2 separate regions of the Homo sapiens genome follow, and region 2 is linked to region 1. Evidence: promoter capture Hi-C in 16 types of primary human blood cells and fetal thymus (Javierre and others, 2016). All regions are on one chromosome and are shown on one strand. The core of a region is centred on a gene start or on the middle of the fragment in contact, and the rest is flanking DNA. Distances in the headings are between cores, read along the strand shown.

Region 1 (7,204 bases), core at 2,718-5,217:
AACAGACTTGCAAATCTGCCTGTAAAATCATACACCGGATTTTGGAGTAGACACACAGGAGGCTGATTGTAGTGGTGGCTTCTGGGAGAAGAACTGGGGGGTAGGGGGCACAGATAAGAGTAGACAGAATTTTCACTCTAGTAATCTTTGTAATTTTTGAAATTCTCTCTACCAGGTGTATGAATGACCAATGAAAATATACAATAGGCCAGGCGCAGTGGCTCACGCCTATAATCCCAGCACTTTGGGAGGCTGAGGCGGGTGGATCACATGAGGTCAGGAGTCCGAGGCCAGCCTGACCAACATGGTGAAACCTTGTCTCTACGAAAAATACAAACATTAGTCAGGTAGGGAGCATCACTTGAGAACAGGAGTTCAAGACCAGCCTGGACAACAAAGCAAGACCTCTGCCTCTACAAAAAAAAAAAAAAAAAAAAAAAATTGCTGGGCATGGTGGAACATGCCTGTGGCCTCAGCTACTTAGGTGGCTGCAGCAGAGGATCATCTGAGGCCAGGAATTCAAGACTACAGTGAACTATAATCGTTACACTGCACTACAGACTGGTAACAGGGTGAGATCCTGTCTCAAAAACAACAGCAACAAAATAAACGATTAAAAGACCTTTTAAAGTTGCAAAATACATAGAGTCTTAAACATGCATCCACAGTTATTTATTTATTTATTTAGAAACGGAGTTTCACTCTTGTTGCCCAGGCTGGAGTGCAATGGTGCGGTATCAGCTCACTGCAACCTCCGCCTCCCAAGTTAAAGGAATTCTGCCTCAGCCTTCCAAGTAGCTGGAATTACAGGCATGCGCCACCATGCTCGGCTAATTTTGTATTTTTAGTAAAGATGGGGTTTTGGCATATTGGCCAGGATGGTTTCGAACCCCTGACCTCAGGTGATCCACCCGCCTCGGACTCCCAAAGTGCTAGGATTATAGGCATGAGCCACCACGCCCGGCCGCATTCAGTTATTCTTGCAGGGATAAAATACACAATGAAATACACTATACTTTTTGTTTTCTTTCTTTCTTTTTTTTTTTTTTTTTTGAGACAGAGTCTCACTCGTCGCATGGGCTGGAGTGCGGTGCGGGATCTCGGCTCACTGCAACCTCTGCCTCCTGGGTTGAAGCGATTCTCCTGCGTCAGCCTCCCGAGTAGCTGGGATTACAGGTGCCCGCCACTACGCCCAGCTAATTTTTTTGTATTTTTAGTAGAGATAAGGTTTCACCATGTTGGCCAGGCTGGTCTCGAACTCCTGACTCGTGATTCGCCCACCTTGGCCTCCCAAAGTGCTGGGATTACAGGCGTGAGCCACCGCACCCGGCCACATTTTTTTTTTTTTTTTTTTGAGACAGGATCTTAGTCTGTCACCCAGGCTGGAGTACAGTGGCATGAACATGGCTCACTGCAGCCTCAATCTCTTGGGTTCAGGTGATCCTTCTGCCTTAGCCTCCCCATTAGCTGGGACCACAGGCATATACCATCACACCTAGCTAATTTTTAAATTTTTGGTAGAGGCCAGGCGCGGTGGCTCACGCCTGTAATCCCAGCACTTTGGGAGGCCGAGTCGGGTGGATCACCTGAGGTCGGGAGTTCGAGACCAGCCTGGCCAAAATGGTGAAACCCTGTCTCTACTAAAAATAAAAAATAAAAATAAAAATTAGCTGGGCGTAGTGGCGGGCGCCTGTAATCCCAGCTACTCGGGAGGCTGAGGCAGGAGAATCGCTTGAACCCAGGAGGCAGAGGTTGCAGTGAGCCAAGATCGCGCTACTGCACTCCAGCCTGGGCAACAGAGTGAGATTCTGTCTCAAAAAAAAAATAATAATAATGCTATTTATTGACTTTACACCTTGTACCAGGCATGGGAAGCTTTGCCTCCATTACGTCACTGAATCTCATAACCTCCTTTTCCAGCAGAGGAAAATGAGGTTGGTTCACAGACCACGTTGTCAGCTGTGCTCTGTCCAGAACGCACTGGCCTCCAAGTAGACAGCCCTGGACTGGTAGGGAAGCCGGCTATGATCCGGTGGCGCCCCCTGGAGGTCTATCGGGAACATGGTAAAGAACCTAAAAATGGGTGGGCCACAGTAGCTCATGCCTGTAATCCCAGCACTTTGGGGGACCAATGCGGGAGAATTGCTTGAGCCCAGGAGTTCAAGACCAGCCTGGGCAACATTGGGAGACCCACCCCCCGCCATCTCTACAAAAAAAAAATTAGGCCGGGCGCGGTGGCTCAGGCCTGTAATCCCAGCACTTTGGGAGGCCGAGGCGGGTGGATCACCTGAGGTCAGGAGTTCAAGACCAGCCTGGCCAACGTGGTGCCACACTGTCTCTAATAAAAACACGAAAATTAGGGCCGGGCTCGGTGGCTCACGCCTGTAATCCCAGCACTTTGGGAAGCCGAGGCGGGCGGATCACGAGGTCAGGAGATTGAGACCATCCTGGCTAACACGGTGAAACCCCCTCTCTACTAAAAATACAAAAAGTTAGCCAGGTGTGGTGGCGGGCGCCTGTAGTCCCAGCTACTCGGTAAGCTGAGGCAGGGAATCGCTTGAACCCGGGAGGCCGAGATGTGCGATCTCACACCACTGCACTCCGGCCTGGGCGACAGAGCGATACTCCATCTCAAAATACAAATACAAAATAAAAAAATACAATACAAAAATGAGCCGGGCTTGCGTACCTGTAGACCAGCTACTCAGGAGACAGAGGCAGGAGAATCCCTTGAGCTCTGGAGGTCGAGGCTGCAGTAAGCCATGATCTTGCCCATTGCACTCCAGCCTGGGCGACAGAGGAAGACCTTGTCTCTAAAAACCAAAACAAAGAAACTAAAAATAAGCATTCGGATTTGTTAGGGGGCGACAAGGGAGGCACTCCAGGATCTGTGGACTCCCCACTTTGTTCTGTCCTTGGAGAGCCCTGGAAGGTCTGAGAGGGGACGGGACCTGGTTTAAGGGGGTAGGGGAGAGGACCCTGGTCTAGGGGGTAAGGGACACAAATACCTAATCTGAGGGGTTTCGGGGGGACATGGCCCTGCCCTGGGGAATCTAAACTGGGAGGCATGGTCTGGCAGGCCCAATCCTGAAGGCTTTCTGAGGGCAATAAGGCCCTGCCTTTAAACAAATGAAAAAACGCCAGGCACGGTGGCTCACGCCTGTAATCCCAGCACTTTGGAAGGCTGAGGCGGGAGGATCACGAGGTCAGGAGATCGAGACCATCCTGGCTAACGCGGTGATACCCGTCTCTACTAAAAATACAAAAAATTAGCCAGGCGTGGTGGCGGGCGCCTGCAGTCCCAGCTACTCGGGAGGCTGAGGCAGGAGAATGGCGTGAACCCAGGAGGCGGAGCTTGCAGTGAGCCGAGATCGCGCCACTGCACTCCAGCCTGGGCAACAGAGCAAGACTCCGTCTCAAAAAAAACAAAAACAAAAACAAAAACAAAAACAAAAAAACAAATAAAAAAACAAAACCACATAACTGGATAAAGAAAAAACCATCTCCGACAGCCTTGGAGGCGGGATGAAGGCGTGGCCCGGTGGGCGTGACCAACAGCAAAAGTTTAAGCGTTATTGGCTGTATTCCTTAGTTGCTCACTCCAGAACTGCCCACTTATGGGCGGGGGTCACTCCTTCAGGCTTAACAGTCATTGGCTGAATTGGGCCAGAGAGGTCTCATTGGCTGAATTCCTGCACCGGCTCGTCGGAGGCGGGACCCAAAGTAGGCTAGGCCTACGGAAGCTGGGTCTTCTTGCTGTGAGGTCGCGTTCCCCAGTGTTACGGAGGGTCCTTGAGGCAGGAGTGAAAATTGGGTCTGGGGGTTAGTCCTGGGGTGGAGGTCTGGGCACGCCGGGTCGGACCCCCTCCATCTTCGGTTTTGCACACCCCGCTTTCCAGCGCGGAGTCGCGGCGGGTAGGGCGGCGTCGCGTGCGTGACGTCATCCAGCGGCGCCTCGCGAGGCTCCAGTGGCCTTGACCTCCCGCGGCGTGGGAGGCTGCGCGGCGATGCTGCAGTTCGTCCGGGCCGGGGCGCGGGCCTGGCTTCGGCCTACCGGCAGCCAGGTGAGGCCAGGGGCTGGAGGCGTGGTCGAAGGATGAAATTTGGGGGTGTCCAGGGGTCGTCTCTCACTTTCGCCCAACCCTTGCAGGGCCTGAGTTCCCTGGCGGAAGAGGCAGCGCGTGCGACCGAGAACCCGGAGCAGGTGGCGAGCGAGGGTAAGGCAACCGGGGTGGCTCCAGGAGGGGCGGCGACAGAGAGGTCTGACCCTTGACCCTAACCTCTGACCCCCGCAATCGCTCCAGGTCTCCCGGAGCCCGTGCTGCGCAAAGTCGAGCTCCCGGTACCCACTCATCGACGCCCAGTGCAGGCCTGGGTCGAGTCCTTGCGGGGCTTCGAGCAGGAGCGCGTGGGCCTGGCCGACCTGCACCCCGATGTTTTCGCCACCGCGCCCAGGTGAGCGAGGGCTGTAATGGTGAACTGAGTGGCAGAGGGATGAAGAGCGGGATTTCAGGAGTCACGATGACTTTGGGCTTGTACCCTTGGGAAAGTGCTGTATTTCTACAGCCTCCGTTTCTCCACCTGTCAAAGGGGAATGATGACAGTTTCCCCTGCTGTAGCGCTGTGTGAGATTGAAGCCTGAGAGGTGACATCATCTAAGGGTTAGGGAGACAGAATTCTGGAGCCCGACTGATTAGGTTCAAATCCTGCCTTCCCCTCTTGTCCCTCAGTGTCCCTATTTTGTCAGCGGTCGGGAGGTTGCTGTGATGAATAAATGACTTAATTCTGGCACATAATAAGTTCTATAGAAATGTTGATAATCTTTGTTAACTGGTTTTTGCAAATAAGAGCACTAAAAAGACTAAACCATTCCTCGGTGCCTGGAAGAGGCTGTTTGCATTTTAGTTACCCTGCTGTTCATAACATCTCTAAGAAAATGTAGGGGCCACCCTGGGCGCAGTGGCTCACGCCTGTAATCCCAGCACTTTGGGAGGCCAAGGCGGGCGGATCACGAGGTCAGGAGATCGAGACCATCCTGGCTAACATGGTGAAACCCCGTCTCTACTAAAAATACAAAAAAAAATTAGCCGGGCGTGGTGGCGGGCGTCTGTAGTCCCAGGTACTCTGGAGGCTGAGGCAAGAGAATGGCGTGAACCCGGGAGGCGGAGCTTGCAGTGAGCCGAGATCGCGCCACTGCACTCCATCCTGGGCAACACTCTGTCTCAAAAAAAAAAAAAAAAAAGAAAGAAAAGAAAATGTAGGGGCCAGTTACTGTGGCTCACATCTGTAATCCCAGCACATTGGGAGGCCGAGGTGGGCGGATCACTTGAAACCAGGAGTTGCAGACCAGCCTGGCCAACATGATGAAACCCCGTCTCTACCAAAAATACAAAAATTAGCCGGACGTCTTAGTGCAAGCCTGTAGTCCCAGCTACTCAGGAGGCTGAGGCATGAGAATCGCTTGCACCTGGGGAGATGGAGGTTGCAGTGAGCCGTGATTATACTACTGCACTCCAGCCTGGGCGACAGAGACAGACTCCATCTCAAAAAAAAAAACAGGTGAAATTGATTTCAATAATGTATTTAACCTGTATTTAAAACTATGTCGAAATCACATTGTAGCATGGGGCACTGGCCATGTTTCAGATGTTGAGTATGTGACTGTATGGAATGGTATAGAACTAGAGAGGAAAACCAGTCCCTGAAGAAGGTGGCAATAAGTGAAGTGTAATAGCAGGAAAAAAGTAATGGTAGGAAAAACAAGGAAGAAGGGGTGGCTTTTTTTTTCTGAGATGAAGTTTCGCTCTTGTCGCCCAGGCTGGAGTGCAATGGCATGCTCTCAGCTCACTTCAACCTCCGCCTCCTGGGTTCTACTAATTCTCATGCCTCAGCCTCCCGAGTAGCCAGAATGACAGACATGTACCACCGTGCCCAGCTAATCTTTGTATATTTTGGAGAGACATCACTTTGCCATGTTGCCCAGGCTGGTCTTACTCCTTGCCTCAAGTGATCCACCTGCCTTGGCCTCCCAAAGTGCCAGGATTCCAGGCATGAGCCACTGCACCTGGTCAGGGTGGCTCTTTCTTTAGAAGGTACCTTTCAGCAGTTATTGGAGCTGCTACCTGTAGGCTGAGAAAGAACCATCCAGGAGAAGAGTGTTTCAGGCAGAGGGAACAGCAAGTGCCAAGGCCCTGAGGCAGAATTTCAAGATGGGGTCAGTGAGGGGCAGAGGCAAATCGCCCAGGGCCCTGGAGGCAGAAGGGAGAATCCTGGGTTTTCCTATAGTGGGGTGGGAGCGTTTGAAGCAGAGTTGGGCTTCTCATGTGTCCTTCCTCCCCGCAGGCTGGACATACTGCACCAGGTTGCTATGTGGCAGAAGAACTTCAAGAGAATTGTGAGTGCCTAAATGGAGCAAGGTGGTGGGAAGGAGCTTCCTGGGGAGGTTGGGGATAGGACCCAGAGGAAGCCCATCGCTGGGTTTTCTCTGGACTGCTCGGCTGGGGCCTCATCTGTCTCCTGAACTATTCACCGATGGGTCCATTTTTGGTTCTCTTTTTTTTGTTTGTTTTTGAGATGGAGATGGAGTCTCACTCTGTCACCCAGGCTGGAGTGCAGTGGCGCAATCTTGGTTCACTGCAACCTCCGCTTCCTGGGTTCAAGCGATTCTCCTGCCTCTGCCTCCTGAGTAGCTGGGATTACAGGTGTGCACCACCATGCAGGCTAATTTTTGTATTTTTAGTAGAGATGGAGTTTCACCATGTTGGTCAGGCTGGTCTCAAACTCCTGACCTCAAGGAACCTACCTGCCTTGGCCTCCCAAAGTGCTGGGATTACAGGCGTGAGCCACCGTGCCCAGCTCATTTTCAGTTGTTTTCTGATCACTCACTGATGTGGGCATTGTGGTGGGTGAGAGGATATAGCAGGGACCACGAGGACAAAACAGGCAAGGTCCGGCTGTGTGCAAGTGGCTCAGGCCTGTAATCCCAGCACTGGAAGCTGAGGTGGGTGGGTTGCTTGGGGCCAGGAAAGACCAGCCTGGGAAACAGCAAGACCCAGTCTCTACCCCTTCCCCCACAACCCCAAGAAAAAGATGGGCAAAGTCCCTATTCTAATGAAGGTCACAGTGTCATGGGAGGAGAAGTGAAGGTGAGTCAGATGGTCATACGTAATGTGTAATTATGAGCATGTCCCAGAGAATGGGACGT
Region 2 (7,204 bases), core at 3,409-5,908, 110 kb before region 1:
AGGAGAGCGTGGGAATCTAAGCTGAGCCTTTAGGGTGGGGGAAGGGGAGTGGTGCCAGGGGATGGTGAAAGGGCTGGTCTTGGCATCCTGGGAAAACATGCGGGGAGAGGCAGCAAGGGGGAAGGCAGTGGTGGGTGGGCAGTGGCTTGACACCATTCCAGACCAAGTCCAGGACTGCGGGAGCTCTGACACTTCCCATGACCATGCAAGAGAGACCAGGGGTCACACAAAGGCTGAGGACTCGGGAGGAGGAGCCTGGGATCAGATTCCATGTCTCCCCTGAGTCTTGGGCAGGCTGACTGTTCCCACGAGGCTGCTGGGCTGGGCCTCGAGGAGGAGCCGCTCTGTCAGGGTGCCATTACCTTACAGATGTGGTCCCTGAGGATGGGCTGGTACTGTGCGCCCCGGAGCTGCCTCTGGAACCAGGACTGAGGCTCCCCGTTGTAGGAGATCTCCAGTGCCGAGGCTCCATTCCGCACCTCCGGCAGGTCGGACATCGTGTCTCGCACCGTGATGGTCCGGAAAGGACCCGAGCTCAACCTGCAACAGAGGAGGAGGTCAACACCTCTGGAGATGCACGCAGCAGCTGTCCCCTCATCACAGGTGCCACCCCCTGCCTGCTCAGATGGCCTTCTCCCGAGATCACAGCACTGCCCGAGGTCACATGGGTGGCAGTGTGCCTGGATGCCATCTGGAAGGGGGGATGGGGCTATGGCGTGGGCTTTGTGGATGACCACAGCCAAGCATGCGGCTGGCCGCTCTGCACATGCTATCTACTAGGGAAGCAGATGATGCAGGGTCAGAACTGGAGACCACAGGTGGCAGAGTGCCATGTGGCAGAGCACCGTGTGGCAGGGCAGATGCTGTACCATCCTCTCCTCCCCAAGCCTCACCAGGGAGTACTCACGGGCCCCATGAGCTACTGAGGCCTGCTCGGCAGTGTGTGGAGGAGCGACGGGGGCCACCTACCTGGTTATGTTGCTCACAAACTTCTTGTCATCCACCACCACGCTCAGCTGGCAGGCCCGGGGAGCAAACACGTGCAGTGGCTCCGGGAACAGAGGGAGCTTCTCTCCAGGGGCCGCGGCCAGGATGATGGCCCGCCTCCTAGTCTGGGCCACGCCGTACTGACCGGCCTGTGGGGGAGAAGGACGGACAACCCCACCGTCAGTGGGACACTCCCAACTGGACTGGCCAGACCCAGGCCCAGGGTCAGCAGCCTGAGTCGGGAGTGGCTGGCCAATGCGGAGTGCACTTGCAGAAATCCCCAGTTACCTCAGCAGGCGTGCTCCTGGTCAGAGGAGTTTGGAGCAGATAAAGAACAAAAGCAGCTGAGCCCAGGGGACAGCCACTGGGGAAGGTGGGAGCAAACCCTGCGGGGAAGTCCGGCCAGCTCTGAAAGCACTGCAAGGGCCCCAAGGTCTTAGCACTCGGGGAGAACACTGGAGACCAGGAGCCCTGTCGCTTCCCTGATGGCTGTGGTCACAAGGACAGAGAACGTGGCTGCAACAAGTCTTGTCTGGTGAGCCTGAGTCGCCCTGAGGCTGAGCTAGGGGACCGGGTAGCCAAGTGCTTGCCCACTTAGGCAGACATCCTGTGCTAGCATCTGGATAGCTGTTTCATTTTTAATTATGCCCTCAATTGCTGAGCTGATACAGAGAGGATGGGGGATGCTTTTCAGATAAGGCCTGGGCCCCACAGACTATGTCCATCCCTGTCCCTGCAGACACAGCCACCTGGAGTGCAACCCTCGGCCATCTGTGGGGGTTTGTGTGCGCAGTTACCCAGAGCAAAACTGTCTTTTAAACCAATCGAACAGCTGCCGCCTACACATGGCTCTGCGCACCTCACTTCCCCTCCCGCTCTGTGCAGACTCAGCCATTCCACAGTGCTCCATGGTGGGCTGCTCACCCTTCCCCATCGAGGGAAAGGAGCCAGGAGCTGCATGGCGAGAAGCCCATTGTAGCCAGCCCTCCCAGGCATGTTCGAGAACACAGCTCAAGAGACACTAGCGGTGGACTTGCTGGGGGCCGGCTGAGCACGCATCTCCCCTGACTCCGCCAGTGGGACAGAGCACCATGCCAGCCTCTGCTGCCTGGATGGCAGGCCTATGCCATTGAACCCTGCCTTCAGTAAGGGATGGCTGGCTGCTGGCCGGGTCACGTGCTGGCCACATCTGTCTGCCCGCCCCAGCCCCAGGGCCCACCTGCAGCACGCCGAAGGTGCACTGATAGCCCATGCGGACCAGGCAGCGGAGGGTGAGCTTCAGGACCATGGAGCGCTTGAAGGAGACAAAGTTCCTGACATTCTCCAGGAGGAAGAACCGGGGCCGGTAGTAGTCGCAGTAGCTGTAGGGGGCAGGAGAGACTGCAGGAGTCACCTCCACAGACAGAGGGAAGAAACGACCCACTGTGCCGGAAGCCCCTCACGAATGTTATCAAAGTCTCTCCCTGGTGAGAGCTGAGCTGTGAGCTTCCGGGGGGCAGAGGCCTCAGTGCAGGGCGAAAATGACCACTGCTGACATGCGGCACAGCCCCGGGCCGTCTGGCAACACTGGGGGGCTTCTACCCGTTTACCTGAGGAAGGAAACCACCAGAGAGTTTTTGAACTTGGAGTAGGTGCGCGAATTGAAGCGGTTCATGCCGCTGAAGCCCTGGCAGGGCGGCCCGCCGCACAGCATCTCCACGTCTCCCTTCTGGGGCAGCCGCTGGCCGCGGGAGTTGGTGGTCTCCCCAGCCATGACCAGCTTCAGCAGGATGTTGCAGTCCTCTGTGAACACTGTGGAGCCGGGGTTGTTCAGCCGGAACGCCTGGGCCGCAGGGTCCCACATCTCGATGGCCCACAGCGTGTCAGAGATGCCTGGCAGATCAAGCACGAAGCCATGCTTTCAACTCTCCAGAAGATTTTTTTTTTTTTTTGAGATGGAGTCTCGCTCTGTCACCCAGGCTGGAGTGCAGTGGTGTGATCTTGGCTCACTGCAAGCTCTGCCTCCCAGGTTCAAGCGATTCTCCCACCTCAGCCTCCTGAGTAGCTGGGACTACAGGCACACACCACCACGCCCAGCTAATTTTTGTATTCTTATTAGAGACGGGGTTTCACCATGTTGGCCAGGATGGTCTCAAACTCCTGACCTCATGATCCACCCACCTCGGCCTCCCAAAGTGCTGGGATTACAGGCGTGCGCCACCGTGCCTGGCCTCGGAAGGAGATTCTTGAGTCAGGAAGGTGACCGGGGTTGGAAGTCGTTTCAGGTAGCACCTGCCCGGTCTGGGCTCACCAGGTATTCAGAGATGGAGCCTACGGGCGCTCACCTGCTTGGTGGAATCCCTCCGACAACCCCCCGCAGCCAGAAAACACATCCAGGGTCCGCAGCTTGGGCAGCTTGATCTCTATCTCTGGCTCGCTCGGCTCACAGGCTTGGGACTTGGGCTTGCCCTTCCCTGGGGGAGAGAGGCCAGAGGCTAAACCCGATCCTCAGAGTCCAAGTCCACCTTGCTCTCAAGCGCCTTGTTAACTCAGGCGGCCTCGCTGTCCCAGAGTCAGTAACACCAGAGGTGGTTTTACACTGAGGGATTCACAGGCAGCCTCCAAGTTACAGAAGAATAACTTGAAAAGAAACTCATACAATGACGTACCTTTTCCCTTGCCCTTCCCTTTGTTTCCAGGGCTACGGGCATGGTTGGGAGGATCTTCAAAGCTTTTGCTCTTTGCATTATAGGCCTGAAAAGGAGAGAACTGCAATCGTTTGGGAGAGAAACGCACTGTCCCCTCTCTAACGCAGACTAGTAAGAAGGCAATTTGATAGTCACTTAATTTCTCCCTCAGTGGGGCCATGACCAATTAGCCACCAATAAGAGTAGTTTGACTTTGCTACAATAGAAACTTAAAACAATCCATTTTATTAATACTAACATTTGATCTGGCTGACACTGAAATGCCTATTACAAGCACTTGAGAGTACCTTCTAGAACAGGAAAAAGTGCTATGCAGAATCTGCTGTCCAATTGGGCTACCTCATCCATGCCTGGGAGAACGTGGATGTATCGTTTTAAGGTAACAACACGGAAAGGCCAAGCCCCAACAATTTACAAGTCATGAGCTTGATCAGCTGACTCGTGGGCCCTCTCCATAACGAGGGCCACCCGCACAGGCATGTGGGCTGGGCCTGGACGTAGGCGCCTGGCCCAAGGGACCCAGGAGCAGGGGCACCTTCTCCAACTCATACTAAGACACCAGTCAGGCTGGTGGAAGCTGCCTCATGGTCCTCAACGTTCAGTTGCACCAAGACACTAAAACGTTAGGTTCTCTAATGACGTACTTTTTAAAAACCAGGAGTGTTAAACTCCGGGACCACTTGAATCTCATACAACTTGTGCTCTGGAGAACCCTGCTCAGACCCCCGTAAAGCTCCTGCAGAACAGCTTCACGTCAGCCAACCACCCACTTCTTACAAAAGCTGAAACCCTGCAGCCAAGCCGCCTTGTGTATAACCCGACATCAGACTCCTTCTGGCCAACTTTGACCCCGAAGCCTTCCCTCTAGCAAGCAGGGGCACCACCTCGAGGAAGTAGAAGCGGTTGGGGCCGCCCATGGAGTACACCTGGACGCACTCGGGCAGGTCCTCCCCATACTCCACGGTGCAGCGGCCCTGCACAGCCTTGAAGTCCACCACGGCCTCCTCGTCGCTCCAGTAGAGCAGGTTGATGTCTGCGTGGTAGCTCGCTGGAGTGGACTTGTGGGTGTTCTCAGGCCTGCGAGCGGGAGAGGCCTCGTTAGGAGCTCTCCTTTGTGGTGAGCTTATGCTGAATTAAACAGTACCATGTTCCTGGGGTGCTCAGGGAACTGCAGGGTAAAGACCCCCTAGTTCGAGAACCGCAGGGTAAAGACCCCCTCAGTTAGGGAACTGCAGGGTAAAGATATCTCCTCCCCACACTGGGGAACTGCAAGGTAGACTCCCCCCCATTTAGGGAACTGCAGGGTAAAGACCCCCCCTAGTTAGGGAACCACAGGGTAAAGATCCCCCAAGTTAGGGAATCGCAGGGTAAAGACCCCTCCCAGTAAGGGAATCACAGGGTAAAGATATCCCCTCCTCACATTAGGGAACTGCAAGGTAGATTCCCCCACAATTAGGGAACCGCCAGGTAATGACCCCCGACCCAGTTGGGAACCGCAGGGTAAAGACCCCCCAGTTATGGAACCGCAGGGTAAAGACCTCCCCAGTTAGGGAGTCATAGGGTAAAGACCCCCCTACTTAGGGAACCGCAGGTAAAGATAACCCCTCCCCAAATGAGGGAACTGCAAGGTAGATTCGCCCCCAATTAGGGAACCACAGGGTAGAGACCCCCCAACCATTAGGTCAGCTTGGCTGCTTGCTCTGCACGCCTGGCCCTGCCCTGCTGTGTCCGCCTGCCGGTAGCAGCCTCTCGAGTGTGTTTCTCTCACCTGTACCACTCACAGCCCTTGTTTTATTTCCTGTTATTACAAAGGCTTCAGGAAATCTTTGATCTATGTTAGCTAAGAGGTGAGGCAAGTGTATAGCTTCCTGTACAGGCTAGTTTCAGGTTAATGCCTAATCACCGCAAGTTACTCGGGTCTTAGAAAAAGAAAACGTAATAGGCCAAAAGCTTAGGAAAGAGAAAAAATCCCAGAGACAGAAAGGAGGACCTGGGAAGAGGTGGGGACAGCGGGACAGAACCTGGACAGTCATAGATGGAGCTTGGGAGGTTCTCTGGGGGTGCCCAGGCACTCTACCCGTTTTTTCTTTTGAGACGGGGTCTGGCTGTCACCCAGGCCGGAGTGCAGTGGTGGGATCATGGCTCACTACAGCCTCAAATTCCTGGGTTTCAGTGATCCCTTCAGCCTCAGCCTCCCAAGTAGCTGGGATTACAGGCGTGTGCCACCACGCCCAGCTAGTCTTTTTTTTTTTTTTTTTTTGGTAGGGCCGGGGTCTCACTACGTTTCCTCAAGCTGGTCTTGAACTCCTAGACTCAAGTGATCTTCCTGCCTCAGCCTCCCAAAGTGCTAGGATTAGAGGCGTGAGCTACAGTGCCCAGCCAGCTTAAGGATTTCTTTTGGAAAAAGGGCTCTGCAACATTAAAATAAGGACCTAAAAGTGAGGGCTGGGAACTAGAATTCTAGTCATTATCAGTGCCCACCGATAATCAGAAACACTTGGAAAAACAGCTACTTCAACCTAACTCTTAGAACAACTGTGGGTGCTATGCCACAACCTTGTTTCAGGCAGAGCCTTCTAGAAGAGTCTGTGGCCTCGTGGAAGAACAGAGGCCTCTGCTGACCTGTAGAACTTGTTGACCCGGATTTTGATGTCAGTCTCATTGGGCCTGCCGTTGCTCTTCTTGGGACAGAAGATCTCTTTGATCCGGCCAATTCGGTAGGGCTCAGGGGCATCCAGGTTGCTGCCTTTGATGTAGTCGGAGTATTTCCGGTAGTGCTCTGGGTACAGGTCCTCATCCACGGGCTCCTTCCGTGGGCGTTTCACGGGACTGGACAGCTTGATGCTGCAGAGAAGCACCCACTTGACATCAATGAACCTTCCACCTTGCAGTGGTCAGTCAGGCATGACTGACCAGTGAAAATAACCATTTAAAGTCAAGCACCTGATGAATTAAGGTAGGTGTGTACCCTAAGAAATGATTTAGGCTGGGCATTGTGGCTCACGCCTGTAATCCCAGCACTTTGGGAGACCAAGGCAGGTGGACCACAAGGTCAGAAGTTCGAGACCACCCTGGCCAACACGGTAAAACCCTGTCTCTACTAAAAATACAAAAATTAGCCGGGTGTGGTGGTACATGCCTATAATTCCAGCTACTTGGGAGGCTGAGGCAGGAGAATTGCTTGAACCCAGGAGGCAGAGGTTGCAGTGAGCTGAGATTGTGCCACTGCACTCCAGCCTGTGTGACAGAGCAAGACTCCATCTCACAGAAAAAAAAAAAAAAGATTTAGCTGCAGATTTAGTCTCACAGTTTGAAGCACGCATTCACCCTCTGCGCATTACTGGCTACGGTGGTGGCTGACACTGCTCAAATACCCCAGGCTCCTGCCTCCCGACTACTTGGCATCTTGTGTTTCCTGGCATGTGACGTGGGCAGAAGTGACCAAAGAGGATGTCACTGCCTGGGGAATGTCCTGTGTGCTTTCCCTTGGGCTCAAACACTGGCAACTTCTGACTCCAGCGGCCCAGATA

The links. The method cuts DNA at HindIII sites, captures the fragments that hold promoters and counts their contacts. A CHiCAGO score of 5 or more calls a contact.
Region 2: a contact is called between a fragment that was not itself captured here and the fragment with the promoter of MRPL4 in region 1, in 6 of 17 cell types (M0 macrophages, activated CD4 T cells, naive CD8 T cells and 3 more). The highest score is 6.9, in M0 macrophages.

The regions. Positions count from the first base shown.
Region 1 is chr19:10,248,247-10,255,450 of GRCh38, forward strand. MRPL4 (mitochondrial ribosomal protein L4) reads left to right here and starts at 3,968. Exons shown (of 9, transcript NM_015956.3): 1 at 3,968-4,064; 2 at 4,151-4,217; 3 at 4,305-4,455; 4 at 6,343-6,394. The coding sequence starts at 4,008. RefSeq lists a silencer at 1,904-1,953 and enhancers at 3,323-3,896, 3,351-3,500, 3,631-4,040, 3,897-4,470. The HindIII fragment of the contact is 20,723 bases long and covers 1,874-7,204 here.
Region 2 is chr19:10,137,470-10,144,673 of GRCh38, forward strand. It overlaps DNMT1 (DNA methyltransferase 1), which reads right to left. Exons shown (of 41, transcript NM_001130823.3): 29 at 6,297-6,518; 30 at 4,559-4,751; 31 at 3,636-3,720; 32 at 3,312-3,440; 33 at 2,577-2,859; 34 at 2,207-2,348; 35 at 970-1,136; 36 at 363-540. Among named protein-coding and RNA genes, the nearest start is that of EIF3G, 21 kb to the left of the region's middle. The HindIII fragment of the contact is 1,927 bases long and covers 3,696-5,622 here.